Linked DNA regions of Homo sapiens: region 2 is linked to region 1. The links are contacts of gene promoters, found by promoter capture Hi-C in blood cells and fetal thymus (Javierre and others, 2016). All regions are on one chromosome and are shown on one strand. Each heading gives the region's core, a stretch centred on a gene start or on the middle of the fragment in contact. The rest is flanking DNA. Distances are from core to core; before and after follow the strand shown. Region 1 holds the start of TMEM147 (transmembrane protein 147). Region 2 has its middle 13 kb from the start of LINC01531.

Region 1 (6,487 bases), core at 1-2,500:
CTCCAGCACCCCCGTGGAACCCAGGTGTCCCTTCTCAGGGGTCTGGGCTCCAGGCTGCTGTACGCACCGGGACATAATAAGCTCAGCAGTGGCCCAGCCCAGGGCAGCAACCATGATCTTGTACTCTCCCTTGCCGGCATTCCGGGACATGACAAGGTTTAGACCTATCAGGTCTGCCACATCCACGCTGGCCTTCATGAACTCCTGCGGGTCAGGTTGAGGCTTAAGTAAGCACAGGGGGACAGGGAGCCCCATTCCTGAACTCCCTTCCCTTCCCTGGCCCCTCTCACCCCAATGAAGTCATAGATGCCGCCTTCCCAGGTGGGAAAGAAAGTGGCCAAGAACAGCATCTGAGAACAGAAAGCAGAAAGAGGTCACTTCAAGGTGAGGGGATCAAGATAAACCACGTGGGATTTGTGGGAAGTTCGTGGGTAGGAAGAGGGCAGGACAGGTTCTGGGGGCCCATCTGGAAGAGGAACCACCAGATGGTGGCAAAATTACAGGAATCGGGGAGATAGAGGATAGGTCCCCGGGTCCCCGAGGGGGCTGGAAGTTTGAGTTCTGGGTGATCACAGGGCATCTGAGTCAGGTCTGAAGGTGCTGCTCCTTGGGCAGTGTTAGCAGCACGTACGGAATCAGTGATCACTCTTAACCGCACCAAAAAAAACCTGTTAGCCAACCACACTACTGAGGTTTTCTCAGTTTTACTAAGTGCTACGCAAAAGTTGCTTCTAGGTCTCTTCTCAGGTCGTGCCCTCTTTAAAGTCCATCCTCTCTAGGTATCCTGACGCCTCCCAGTGCGGAGTCCCGAGGGCGGTCCCACCGTGGGGCGGCGGGGGCGCGGATAGGCAACGGGGGCGGGTCCCTGGGTCTGCAGAGCCTGGGGGCCAGAACACGTGGCTTCCCGGTGGCCCTCACCTTGCAGAGTTGGACAAAGAGGTAGGTGACTCCAGCCTGGACGCATTTCCAGAAGGCGTTGTACTCGGACCTGGAGAAGCGGGAGGTGAGGGTCGGCCCGGGCCCCGCGCCCTCTCCGCCCCGCGCCCTTCCCGCACTCACAGGCCGCTGCACTTGTAGGTGATGAAGTAGGGGAAGTAGGCAAGAGCGAAGCAGTTCCCGAAGTGAAACAGGGTCATGATGCCGGCCGCCCGGTCCCGCCCGCGCGGGGATCGCGAGGCGGCGTCTCCGGGAGCGGGTCTCCGGCTCCGCCGGCTCTTTCGCCACGGCCAGGGCCTGGCACCCACCTGACTGGCGGGGGCCCGCGCGCGACCTTCTGGGAGCAGTAGTCCCGGCGCGGGGCGTCGCGCCCAGTGACGTCAGAGAGCCCGTGGCCGGCCCTGGGTCCCACCGCTGCCGGCCCAGCGCTTTGGGGAGTGACTTCCGGCCATGCGGGGCCTCTACCGCTGCCATCGCGGTCCCGGTCTCCTGAAGTGGAACCCGGCTTGGAGTCGAGCGCGACCCCTCGCCCGTGGGCGCAGGCGATCGAGTAAGGGTGGGGCGGGCCTCAAACCCGGATCAGAACCCGCCCTGACCGGCGCAGAGATACGGGACGCAGCCGTGAGCACTGTTTTTTATTTCACCATGGACCCATCGGCGTGGGGCGCCCGCCCCGGGTGTCCTTCCTCCCCCGGGCAGCCAGATGCTGGAACGGGAGGCACATGTTCCGGCCCCGGCCCCTGGGAAGGAAAGAAAGGACCTTCCCGTTTCACTTGTCTCGGCTGAACATGTAGCGGAGGAGGTCGACCACCCGGTGACTGTAGCCATATTCGTTGTCGTACCTGTGGAGGAGGGGTCGGGAGGTTCAAGGGGGTTCCTTCCGACCACCCCTTAGTTCCCCTCCCTCTAAGTCTCCAGCTCCTTCCCCCTTACCATGAAATGAGCTTCACGAAATTGTCATTGAGCGCAATGCCGGCCTTAGCATCGAAGATGGACGAGTGGGTATCACCGAGGAAGTCCGTAGAGACGACCTGGAAGTCAGAATTTCAAAGATAAGTGTGTCCGGCAGAGCAAGGACCTCCAGGAGCTGAGGCCCCGACTCTTAACTCTATCGCCCATCCATGCATTCATCTATAATATTTGATGTAGCCCTACTGTGTCCAGTCTCTGGACTGGAGGGTATGACCAAGTGCAGGGTATGACCAAGGCACTGTGTCAGGGTCTGGCCAAAGGGCACAGGTCACAAACACCCTCATGCTGTACCAGTACATCCCTTTCCTAGGAATAATGCAAGCGTTTGGAATGGGCCAGCATGGAGGGCCTCTCTGAGGGGTGGCCATGAGCCTGGGTCTAGATGACTAGAAAGATCTGACCGGCTGGGGCCCTCAGCACAGTGTCTGAGGTAGAAGGAGCTGCAGGAAGGGAGGACCTGAGGGTTTTAGCCCTAGTGTCATGAAAGGCCACAGGAGTGTTTTCAATCCTGAAAACGGGTGATGCAATGTGATTCCATTAAAACAAAAGATCCCAGTGACTGTGGGAAAGTGGACCTGCAGGAGTTAATGCAGGGAGACAGCACCAAGGTGGATGTACAGGGGTCCACCATGACCATGGCATCCACTCCTCACAGAGAAGGCATCTGGCCATGGCCTGGCCCTGAGCAAGTATTGAAAAAAATGGGAGCTGTTGTCTTTTGTTCACTAAGCATGTATTAGTCACCTGCTGTATGCCAGGTTGGAGCCACAAAAGTGAAAAGGCAGCCCCTAAATCCCTGTTTTCTTGGAGTGCACACACCACTGGGGCCAACAGTGACTATGAAATGAAATTTCAGGTGAGGAATATGGCCACAAAAAGAACATATTTTGAGGGGGTGCCTTGCTGAAGAGGGAGGTTCCTCCAGAGACTTGGAGGAAGTAAGGACAGACTGTATGGTCACCTGGCAAGGGAAGCATTCCAGACTAAAGGAACAGCAAGTGCAAAGGCCCTGAGGCAGGGAGATCTCCCTTCCTGCCCTGCAGTTTCTGACTTGGCACATTGAGAGCAGCTCCCTGGCAAGTGGAAATCATGTCCCTTCCCAGAGGGCTCCTCCCAGGGTCTCCTCTCCTCAGCCCCTACCTCATCCTCGGTGTAGGCAAGGATGCCAGCCATGGGCCCCTTGGCTGCTGCTTTTACAGCCTCCTTGATGGCTGAGTAGGGGGCAGGCTGGGCGAGGCGGCAGGTCAGGTCCACGACAGACACATCCGGGGTTGGTACCCGGAACGCCATCCCTGTCAGCTTCCTGGAGAATCCCCCATGAGGAACAGGAGTCAGAACTTAGGGACGTTGCCCTCCATTCCCCCTTTCCCTGTGGCTGGGCCAGGCCCCTGCTTTCCTCTTAAGGACTGAGGGCCGGGCCAGTCCAGTCCTCCTGGCGTATGCCCCCACCCTGGTTGCAGCTTCTTGTCCTCATACCCTTTGAGCTCTGGGATGACTTTGGTCACAGCTTTCGCAGCCCCAGTGGAGGCTGGGATGATGTTCTGGTGGGCACCCCGCCCATCTCGCCAGGCCTTCCTTGATGGCCCGTCCACTGTCTTCTGGGTGGCCGTGTAGGAATGGACTGTGGTCTTGGGGAAGAGAAGGACCAAGATGAGGCCTTCATGCTCCTAAGCTCCCATGCCTCTTTTTTCCAGGACTAAGTTGGTGGCCTAGGTGTGGAGGCTGGTGGGGCCACCACCACAGACCACAGGAGGGGATGTGTGCAGGCCAGGGTCCAGCCTTGCCTGAGGGTTGCACAGTGTTTTAAGTGACTTCTGCACTGGTGGGCCTCTCCTCCCGAAACCAGTCTCTCCCTCTTAACTCCATACAGTAAGCAAGGCCCGGGAAGAAGTTGGGTTTCCCTGCCATCCTTCCTGCCCCAGCCCCTCATCCTCAACTCACCATCAACCCTTCCACGATCCCAAATCGCTCGTGGATGACTTTGGCGAGGGGAGCCAAACAGTTGGTGGTGCAGGACGCGTTGCTGAAACAGCCAAGGTGTGCACGGACACTGTGAGGTGAGTCGCAGAGCCACCCCTCCACCCTTACCCCTCTTGGGGTATGCACGCAGACTTGGTTTTATGAAACGTCAGGATGAGGGTGAGAGGGATCTGTGGGGACACTGTCAGACTGAAGGAGGCACTGAGGTGCAGCTGGGGAGGCTCCCCAAGCTTGTCCTCTGGAAGTCATGCGTTTTTAGCAGATAGTTTCGGGAAGGAGAAGCAGAAGCCAAGCGACCAGGAATCCAGTGGGGCTGAGGGTGGGGAGGACGAGTCTACCCTCCCTTCCACACATTGCAGGATGTCACTGCCCACATTACCTCACAATGTTCATGGAGCCAGGGTTATAGTCATTTTCATTGACACCCATGACGAACATTGGTGCATCCGGTGAGGGCGCGGAGATGACCACACGTTGAGCACCTGCAGAGATGTGGTCCTGGGGAGGAAGCGCAGGTGTCAGGGGCTTCTGGCACCATCATCCCCCCAGCTAGCCCTGGGCACCTCTCCCCAGCTTACCGAAGCTGCCTGTATGGAGAGGTACACGCCTGTGGACTCCACCACGTAGGGGCTCCCGACAGCCCTCCAGGGGATCTGTTTGGGCTCTTTGCTGTGGGGAAGTGGCAGGGCTGAGTCAGTCTCCCCTGCTTGAGCCCCACCTTCATAGTCCATGGCTTTCACCATTTGACAGGCTGAGCAGGTACCGGCCCACCTGCAACCACCTGCGTCCCCTACCCCACACACCTACTTGTTCCAGATGGGCTCCACCCCGCTGGCCTAGCTTTTCACCACTGCCCCACTTCAGACCACTTTCCCTTTGCTGATTGCACCACCCCTGTTATGCCTGGGTACAGGTGGTGACCTCCCCAACTCAGCCCTCAACCTCCTCAGAGGCGCCAATGCTGACTGCTGTCAGCCAGCCCAGACCCTTTCTCCATATGCTGCCCGGGACGTGGACTCTGTGACTGTGAGGCCTGCCCGGCTGCTTTCTGCTTCCCAGCTCTGACAACCTCGCCATGAACCCTCCTAGACCCTCAGCTCCTGCAATAGGAAGCTGGCTGCCAAAGGCCAGGAGGGTCCCTGAAAACAGACACTGCATTAAAGAAAAAGCTCCTGGAGGACTCCTGAAGCCTGAGGCAGCCTTGGGGCAGCAGTGGCTCATGGTTTACATTGGAAAGGTAAGGGAGGTTTCTGGTTTCCTGTTTTATAAATTTATGTTTTTACTTGGTATTTTGACAAACATTTGTATTTGAAGCACACTAAACATCTAGTATTGCCGTTTTCTACTTGGCTTTAGCAAACAAGCATTAAGTGAATAAACTGTTCCACTTTCTTCCTTCCCAGGTTTATCATGAGTAACCGGGTGCTTTGCTTCTGTGATTCTTGGCCAGTGTCGGTCTGTTTCCTTTGCCATTGAGCCTGCTCCCCTCAATGGGGGGTTCAATCAATGTTTGTGGGGTTTGTTTGTTTTGAGACAGGGTCTTCCTCTGTCGCCCAGGCTGGAGTGCAGTGGTGCAATCAGAGCTCACTGCAGCCTTGATCTTCCTGGCTCCGGCCATCCTCCTGCCTTGGCCTCCCGAGTAGCTGGGACTACAGGCGCACACCACCATGCCAAGCTAATTTTTAAATTTTTTTGTAGAGATGGGGTCTCACTTTTGTTGCCCAGGGTGCTTTAGAACCCCTGGGCTCAAGTGATCCTTGACCTCCCACAGTGCTGGGATTACAGGTGTGAGCCACCGTGCCTGGCCTCATGGGTTTTCTTTGTTTTGTTTTGTTTTGTTTTTGAGACAGAGTCTCACTCTGTCACTCAGGCTGGAGTGCAGTGGCACGATTTTGGCTCACTGCAACCTCCACCTTCCGGGTTCAAGCGATTCTCCTGCCTCCGCCTCCCGAGTAGTTGGGGTTACAGGCATGCGCTACCACACCTGGCTAGTTTTTTATTGTTGTTGTTTTTTGTATTTTTAGTGGTGACGGGGTTTGCTCTGTTGGCCAGGCTGGTCTCAAACTCCTGACCTCAGGTGATCCCCACTTCAGCCTCCCAAAGTGCTGGGATGACAGGCATGAGCCTCTGCACCTGGCCTCGTGTTTTTTTTTTAGTTAGCCATTTTATACGTGTTTACTGAACACCTGTCCTGTGCCCATATTCTAAGTGCCTTACCTGCATTAAACTCATGTAACCTTCACAACCCGATGAGGAAGTGCTACCGCTGTCATTTTTTGCATTTTTTTACTGCTGTCAGGGCAGAGGGGAGGGGAGTGAGAGGGAGAGCCTGCTGGAGTGCAGGTGGCTGGTCCCACCTCGGGTCTGCACTCCTGTTTCCACTGCCTGAATGAATGAATGAATGGGCTGCCCTGCAAAGCCATCACACATGCATGGTTATCCTCTTCCTGTCTCCTGCTCTGTCAGTCCACTTTCCATCATCTGGCCCAACGAGCTCTTCTCAGATACCCCCCATTTCCTGCCTTCCAAATTAGGGACACTTGCGATTCCTCTGCAACAATTGCTGAGTTGGCCTGAGGCAAAGACTGTGCCCCCAGAA
Region 2 (6,487 bases), core at 2,623-5,122, 150 kb after region 1:
CTAGAAATAGGCCACAGGTTTAAAGTTGGGTGCTGCCAAGACAGCCCTGTGACTGTATGTTTACCTTCATTCAGTATTCATGACAGAAGAGTGATTATGAGGCCGGGGCCAGATGGCCCAGGACTGCGATTCAGCGTTGCTGTGAGTACAGGACTTGTCCTTGGGCAGCGGCCCCTCCCAGCACAAGCAGCCTGGTCTCTTCCGCCGGCCCAGAGCTGCACTGGATGTCGTGCAGACGCTGAATGCCAAAGAGGTCAATTACAGCACAGCACCCTCCTTCTTAGAGAAAACACTCCTGCTTTCAATGCCTGAGGCTTGGGAACGGTTTAAGCACCTCGCTCCTCCGCAGCCCCGGGGATGGGCACTTAGAAGCCTGAGCATGTTAAATCATTTATTTATTCCCATGATTCCAGCCACCCTCACAGTGACCCTGGAGGTCTCCAGGCAGCTTGAATCCCTGTGCTGCCTTATCTGCTCTCACTTGGTCAGAATCAAGGTGCTGAATGGTTTCCCATTATTATTTCTCTAATTTTAAAAAGTTGCATTATAATGTGTGAATATAGCCTTTAAAAAAACCCAACGGTACAAAAGTAAAATGTGAAATGCCGTTTCACTTCTCCCTGACACTTCTCCATTCCCAGAGGAAACCTCTATTTTGTTTATGTCCATATATGTGCGTATACAAATATTTGGTTTAAAAATGCATACACGGGGCCGGGTGTAGTGCCTCACACTTGTAATCCTAGCACTTTGGGAGGCCAAGGCAGGCAGATCACTTGAGCCCAGGAGTTCGAGACCAGCCTGGGCAATATAGTGAAACCCCGTCTCTACTAAAAATACAAAAAATTAGCCAGTGTGGTGGTGTGCACCCATAATCCCAGCTACTCGGGAGTCTGAGGCAGGAGAATTGCTTGAACCCAGGAGGCAGAGGTTGTAGTAAGCCGAGATCGCGCCATTGCACTCCCGCCTGGGCGACAGAGTGAGACTCCGTTTCAAAAAAAAAAAAAGCATAACTGGGGCTGGGCCCGGTGACTCGCGCCTGTAATCCCAGCACTCTGGGAGGCTGAGGCAGGCGGATCACCTGAGGTCAGGAGTTCGAGACCAGCCTGGCCAAGATGGTGAAACCCTGTCTCTACTAAAAATACAAAAATAAGCCAGGCATGGTGGCAGGCGTCTGTAGTCCCAGCTACTCGTGAGGCTGAGGCAGGAGAATCACTTGAACCCAGGAGGCGGAGGTTGCAGTGGGCCGAGATGGCACCACTGCACTCCAGCCTGGGTGACAGAGCAAGACTCCATCTCAAAAAAAGAAAAGAAAAAGCATAAATGGAATCATACTCCATATTTTTTTTGAAATTTTATTTTTCACCTTACAATATGCTTTAGTGATCTTTTCATGGCAGCCTATACCAATCTAGAGTCTTTCTAATGGCTACATGGTATTTCATTTTAGGACTGTCTTATAATTTATGTAACCATTTAGGATTAATTTACATAGTTTACAGTTCTCTTGGTATAACAAACAGTGCCTCTGCAAATTTATCTATTACCTATCTATCTATCTATCTATCATCTTTCTATCTAGCTAGCTAGCTAGCTATCTGAACAGGTGTGAGTATTTTGGTTAGATGAATCTTTAGATCTATAATTTATGTAATTGCTAGTTCAAAGAGGTATGCCTTGAAATTGTTGATAGATATTTGCATATTACCTTCCTGATAGTGTTTGGTAATTTACATTTCCACCAGCTGTACATGGCAGAATCCCTTCCCCTGCACCTTCTCCAACACTGGATGTTTGAATCTTTAATGTTTTTCCTCATTATGGGTAAGGATGGGTAAAAATGATGAAATCTTGTTGTTTTAGATTACATTTAGAGGATTCTTCCTACTTAAGTGATCCAGGTTCATTTCAAACCACTGTAGGAAAGGATGGACTATTCAGTAAATTATGTTGGGATAGCTGCCTATCCACTGGGAAGAATTACAGCCAGGTAACAAGAATAAAAGGCAGGTGCATTCAAGATCAAAAATGTTTTTAAAAATAATAAATGTTGTGTAGGTATTGTGTAATTTTAAAAGTCTTATAAATAAGGAGGCTTTTTCCCAGTATGACATAATGTAGAAGTCATCAAAAAATGATGAGAAATTTGAGCACATAAAAAGAGATAACCTATGAAAAACATTACAATCAACAAAGTAAAAGGCCACTATCCTTCTACTTATACACCTGATATGAGGTTTGTAAGCCAATATTCAAAGAACTCCTGTAAGTCAAATAAGAACAAAGCAAGTATTGGGAGAAACACAAATGACTCTACACAATATGTAAATATTGTCTATCTCATTTTTAATCTGGGAGATTAATATGAAAATAATACAGAGTATGACGGTTAATTTTATGTGTTGGCTTGGCCACGCCACAGTGCCCAGATATTTGGTGAAACGTTATTCTGGGTGTTGCTGTGAGGGTGTTTTTGGATGAGATTGACATTTACATTGGTGGACTCTGAGCAAAGCAGATTGCCCTCCAAAATGTGGGGGACTCCTCCAGTCACTGAAGGCCTGAACAGCACAAAAGGCTGACCTCCACATGCAAAAGAGAATTCTCCTGCATGCTGGATTCAGACTTTGTCTGCAGCAGTGGGTCTTCCTGGCTCACCAGCAGGCTCTCTTTAGACTCAACCACAACTTCTTCCTGAGCCTCGAGTCAGCCAGCTTCCTCCGTCAGATTTTGGGCTCATCAAGCATTCACAATCACATGAGCCAATTCCTTAAATAAATCTCTTTATACACACATGCAGACATGCAGACACACACACACACACACACAAACACACACACAGAAACACACAGACACACACACGGAGACACACAGTAACACACAGACACACACATGGACACACACACAGACATGCACACAGAAACACAGAGACACACACAGACACAGAGAGATATACACACACACAGAGAGACACACAGACCCACAAAAACACACAGAGACACACAGAAACACATACAAACATGCACACAGAAACACATACACAGAGACACACATTAACACACAGAGCCACAAACATACATGCACACAGACGCACACAGAGACATACAGACACACACATGGAGACACATATACAGACACACACAAAAACACACACAGAGAGAAACACACACACAGACATGCACACAGAGACACACATAGAGACACAGACAGAGACACACATACAAAAACATACAGAGACACACAGAGGTACACACACACAGAGACACACACAGACATGCACAGAGACACACACACAGATACATACACAGACACACACACAGACACACACACACCGCAGAGACACACATACACACACAGACACATGCACAGAGACACAGACACACAGACACACCCACAGACACACATACACACACTCTATTGGTTCTGTTTCTCTGGAAATCCCAGACTAATACTTAAGTTTCTAAATTCTAAATATCATCTCAAAAAATTAAAATACAATATTTTCTCTTGTCAGCAGAGTTATGGGGTCTCTTACAGACTGTTGGGGAAGAAAGGGTTGACTCAGCCGGGGAAGGTAATTCATCGATATTTATCAAAGCTTTACATGTACATATCATTTAATTCAACAGTACGACTTGTAGGAAATGCACAGTGCACGTGCCTTTATGTAAAAGGATGTTCTCATAGCATTATTTATAATAGTAGAAAATTAGAGATATTTTTAAAAAATCATTCATTCATTTATTCACCATCAAATGCCCAGTCTGTGCTAGGCACGGTTTTAGGCACCCACTGGGTATATAGTGACAAAGAAAACTGACGTGGTGACTGCTGTCATGGGCTTCTCAGTCTAGTAGGAGTCACGTTAAACAAATGAACACACACATACAAACATCAAACCATGAGAGCGCAGTGTGAGATAATATCAGAAGGGGGCTACTTGATATTGGATGATCAGGGAAAGCCTCTCTAAGGCGTGACATTGGACAGAAACTTGGAAGAAGTGGGGAACTAGCCAGGTAAAGAGTGGAAGGCATGGTGCATGCAGACATTCAGAGCTTGGCCTGCTCAAGGGACAGAGAGAAGTCCAGGCCAGAAGAGCGATGTCAGTGACACTTCTCTGGGGATGGCCCCAGAGAAGCTTGGAGAGAGAGGCAGGGCCTCAAAGGCTGTGAGGAGGAGGCCAGAATGGAAAGCCATTGAAAAGTTTTATTCAGGGCAATGACAGGATCCAATTTATATTCCTCATGAAACTGGCCTGATTGTCCCATAGATGCTTCTTTTGGATCAACGTAGAAATTCACCCTTCTTTTTTTTTTTTTTTTTTTTTTTTTAGATGGAGTCTTTCTCTGTTGCCCAGGCTGGAGTGCAGTGGTGCGATCTTGGCTCACTACAACCTCTGCTTCCCAGGTTCAAGCAATTCTCCTGCCTCAGTCTCCTGAGTAGCTGGGACTACAGGCACATGCCACCAAACCCGGCTAATTTTTTGTATTTTTAGTAGAGACAGGGTTTCACTGTGTTAGCCAGGATGGCCTTGATCTCCTGACCTCGTGATCCACCCACCTCGGGCTCCCAAAGTGCTGGGATTACAGGCATGAGCCACTGTGCCTGGCCCCCTCCTGGTCTTAAAGTTTGAAGCCTGCATTTGTCTTATCTGAGTTCTTGCCACAGGAAATCAACGAATTGAAACTCACCAGATCACTGCATCCAGACAATGAGATGCCAGACCCCTCATCCCTCCTGATTTCCTTATCCCTCCCTAATTCCTTTGACCAACTCCTCTTCCTTACCTCTCCCTAACTCTGGTTTTCCCACATGTAGTTACATTTCTTCCCTGCTGTATAACCCCCTGATTTTAGTTGACTAGGGAGATGGATTTGAGACTGATCCCCATTTTCCTTGGCTAAAGCACTCAATTAAAGCCTTCTTCCCAGGCAGTACTCATTGTCTTGGTGATTGGCTTTCTGTGCAGTGAGCAACGGGACCTAGACTGGAGCCCTGGCATTTCAGTAACAGATTTTGGTTCCCTACCTGGGAACACATTGCTTGTGGCTCAGCTGCTGCAGACTGGGACTTTCAGAAGCCCCCTGTACAGCTGTCTGACCTTTTTTTGGCTGGAGGTGGGTTTCCATCTTTTTCTCTTTGGCTCTGCTGCTGCCAGCCCCAAATGTATTGCTGATTGCCTAGGAAGAACAGACTTTGAAATTTGATATCTGTGTCTGGATGGATGAGTGTCTTTTCTGGGTTCCAGACAGCAGGAAGGGCTCCTCTCAATTTGGGAATTTTCTAAGGAATTTCCATTTGCAGGTTGAATAAGCCCAAATGATGGAGGGAGGAAAGCACCATGACTGTTTCAGTTTGGACACTCTTGGGGCTTGTTAGTGAGAACTAAGCTCTGATTTTTAAAATCTTGCCCAAATTCCTATCTAAGGGGTCTAGAGAAGTCATGCTCTACAAACCATAAATTCTCATCAGATTTTTGTTGTTGTTGTTGAGACAGTCTTACTCTGTTGCCCAGGCTGGAGTGCAATGGTGCGATCTCAGCTCACTGCAACCTCTGCCTCCTGGGTTCAAGCAATTCTCCTGCCTCAGCCTCACGAGTAGCTGGAATTACAGGTGCCTGCCACTACGCCCTGCCAATTTTTGTATTTTTCGTAGAGATGGGGTTTCACCATAATGGCCAGGCTGTTCTCGAACTCCTGACCTCAGGTGATCTGCCTGCCTCAGCCTCCAAAAGTGCAGGGATTACAAGCGTGAGCCACCATGCCCAGCCCAGATGGGTTTTATTTAACTTACATATTGTGACTTACTTTCCAATCTTACTCTGGTATAACATTACACGACAAAGAAGAAAGTCATAATATTTTACCCCAAAACATGTTTCTTTGCCATATTTTGAAATGGCCCTGCAAAGTTGTCCTTTGTGGGGGGGAAATGTGCATCTGTAAAGAATCTCTATTAACATAGCTAGATCTTTTTCTTTCAGGCCCTCCCAATCCTGAAGAGATTAACTAAGAGTCTAGCACCTTTTAAAGGTCTGAATAGGAAACATTTGTCAACTATTGTTTCTAAGGGCAGCCACTGTAAGACTTCAAAAGAACCTTGGTCTCCACAATCTTTTAACCTGAACATTTCCTTTCTATGATCCCAGGTCTTTAGACAAACTCAACCAATTGTCAACCAGAAGATGTTTAAATTTACCTATAGCCTGGAAGCCCCACCCTGCTTTGAGTTGTATCGCCTTTCTGGGCCAAACAAATGTATATCTTAAATGTATTTGATTGATGTCTCATGCCTCCTTAAAATGTATAAAACCAAGCTGCACCCCAACGACCTTGGGCACATGTTCTCAGGACCTCCTGGGGACTGTGTCATGGGCCATGGTCACTCATATTTGGCTCAGAATAAATCTCTTCAAATATTTTACAGAGTTTGACTCTTTTTGTTGACATTAGTAATTGTGTGTGTGCACAACTGCGTCTGGACA

What was found. Contacts are between HindIII fragments. The CHiCAGO score rates a contact against its expected background, and 5 or more counts as called.
Region 2: a fragment that was not itself captured here is called in contact with the fragment with the promoter of TMEM147 in region 1 in 1 of 17 cell types (M0 macrophages); the score reaches 5.0 in M0 macrophages.

What each region holds. Positions count from the first base shown.
Region 1 is chr19:35,540,389-35,546,875 of GRCh38, reverse strand. TMEM147 (transmembrane protein 147) reads right to left here and starts at 1,250. Exons shown (of 7, transcript NM_032635.4): 1 at 1,060-1,250; 2 at 919-988; 3 at 291-350; 4 at 68-204. The coding sequence starts at 1,136. It overlaps GAPDHS (glyceraldehyde-3-phosphate dehydrogenase, spermatogenic), which reads right to left. Exons shown (of 11, transcript NM_014364.5): 5 at 4,467-4,557; 6 at 4,268-4,386; 7 at 3,850-3,931; 8 at 3,385-3,536; 9 at 3,049-3,211; 10 at 1,870-1,967; 11 at 1,557-1,778. The coding sequence ends at 1,706. TMEM147-AS1 (TMEM147 antisense RNA 1) reads left to right here and starts at 847. Exons shown (of 4, transcript NR_038396.1): 1 at 847-939; 2 at 3,603-3,965; 3 at 4,802-5,125; 4 at 5,292-6,138. RefSeq lists a silencer at 669-1,248 and enhancers at 941-1,633, 3,348-3,849, 6,244-6,487. The HindIII fragment of the contact is 5,741 bases long and covers 1-4,120 here.
Region 2 is chr19:35,389,739-35,396,225 of GRCh38, reverse strand. No RefSeq gene overlaps it. Among named protein-coding and RNA genes, the nearest start is that of LINC01531, 13 kb to the left of the region's middle. The HindIII fragment of the contact is 543 bases long and covers 3,601-4,143 here.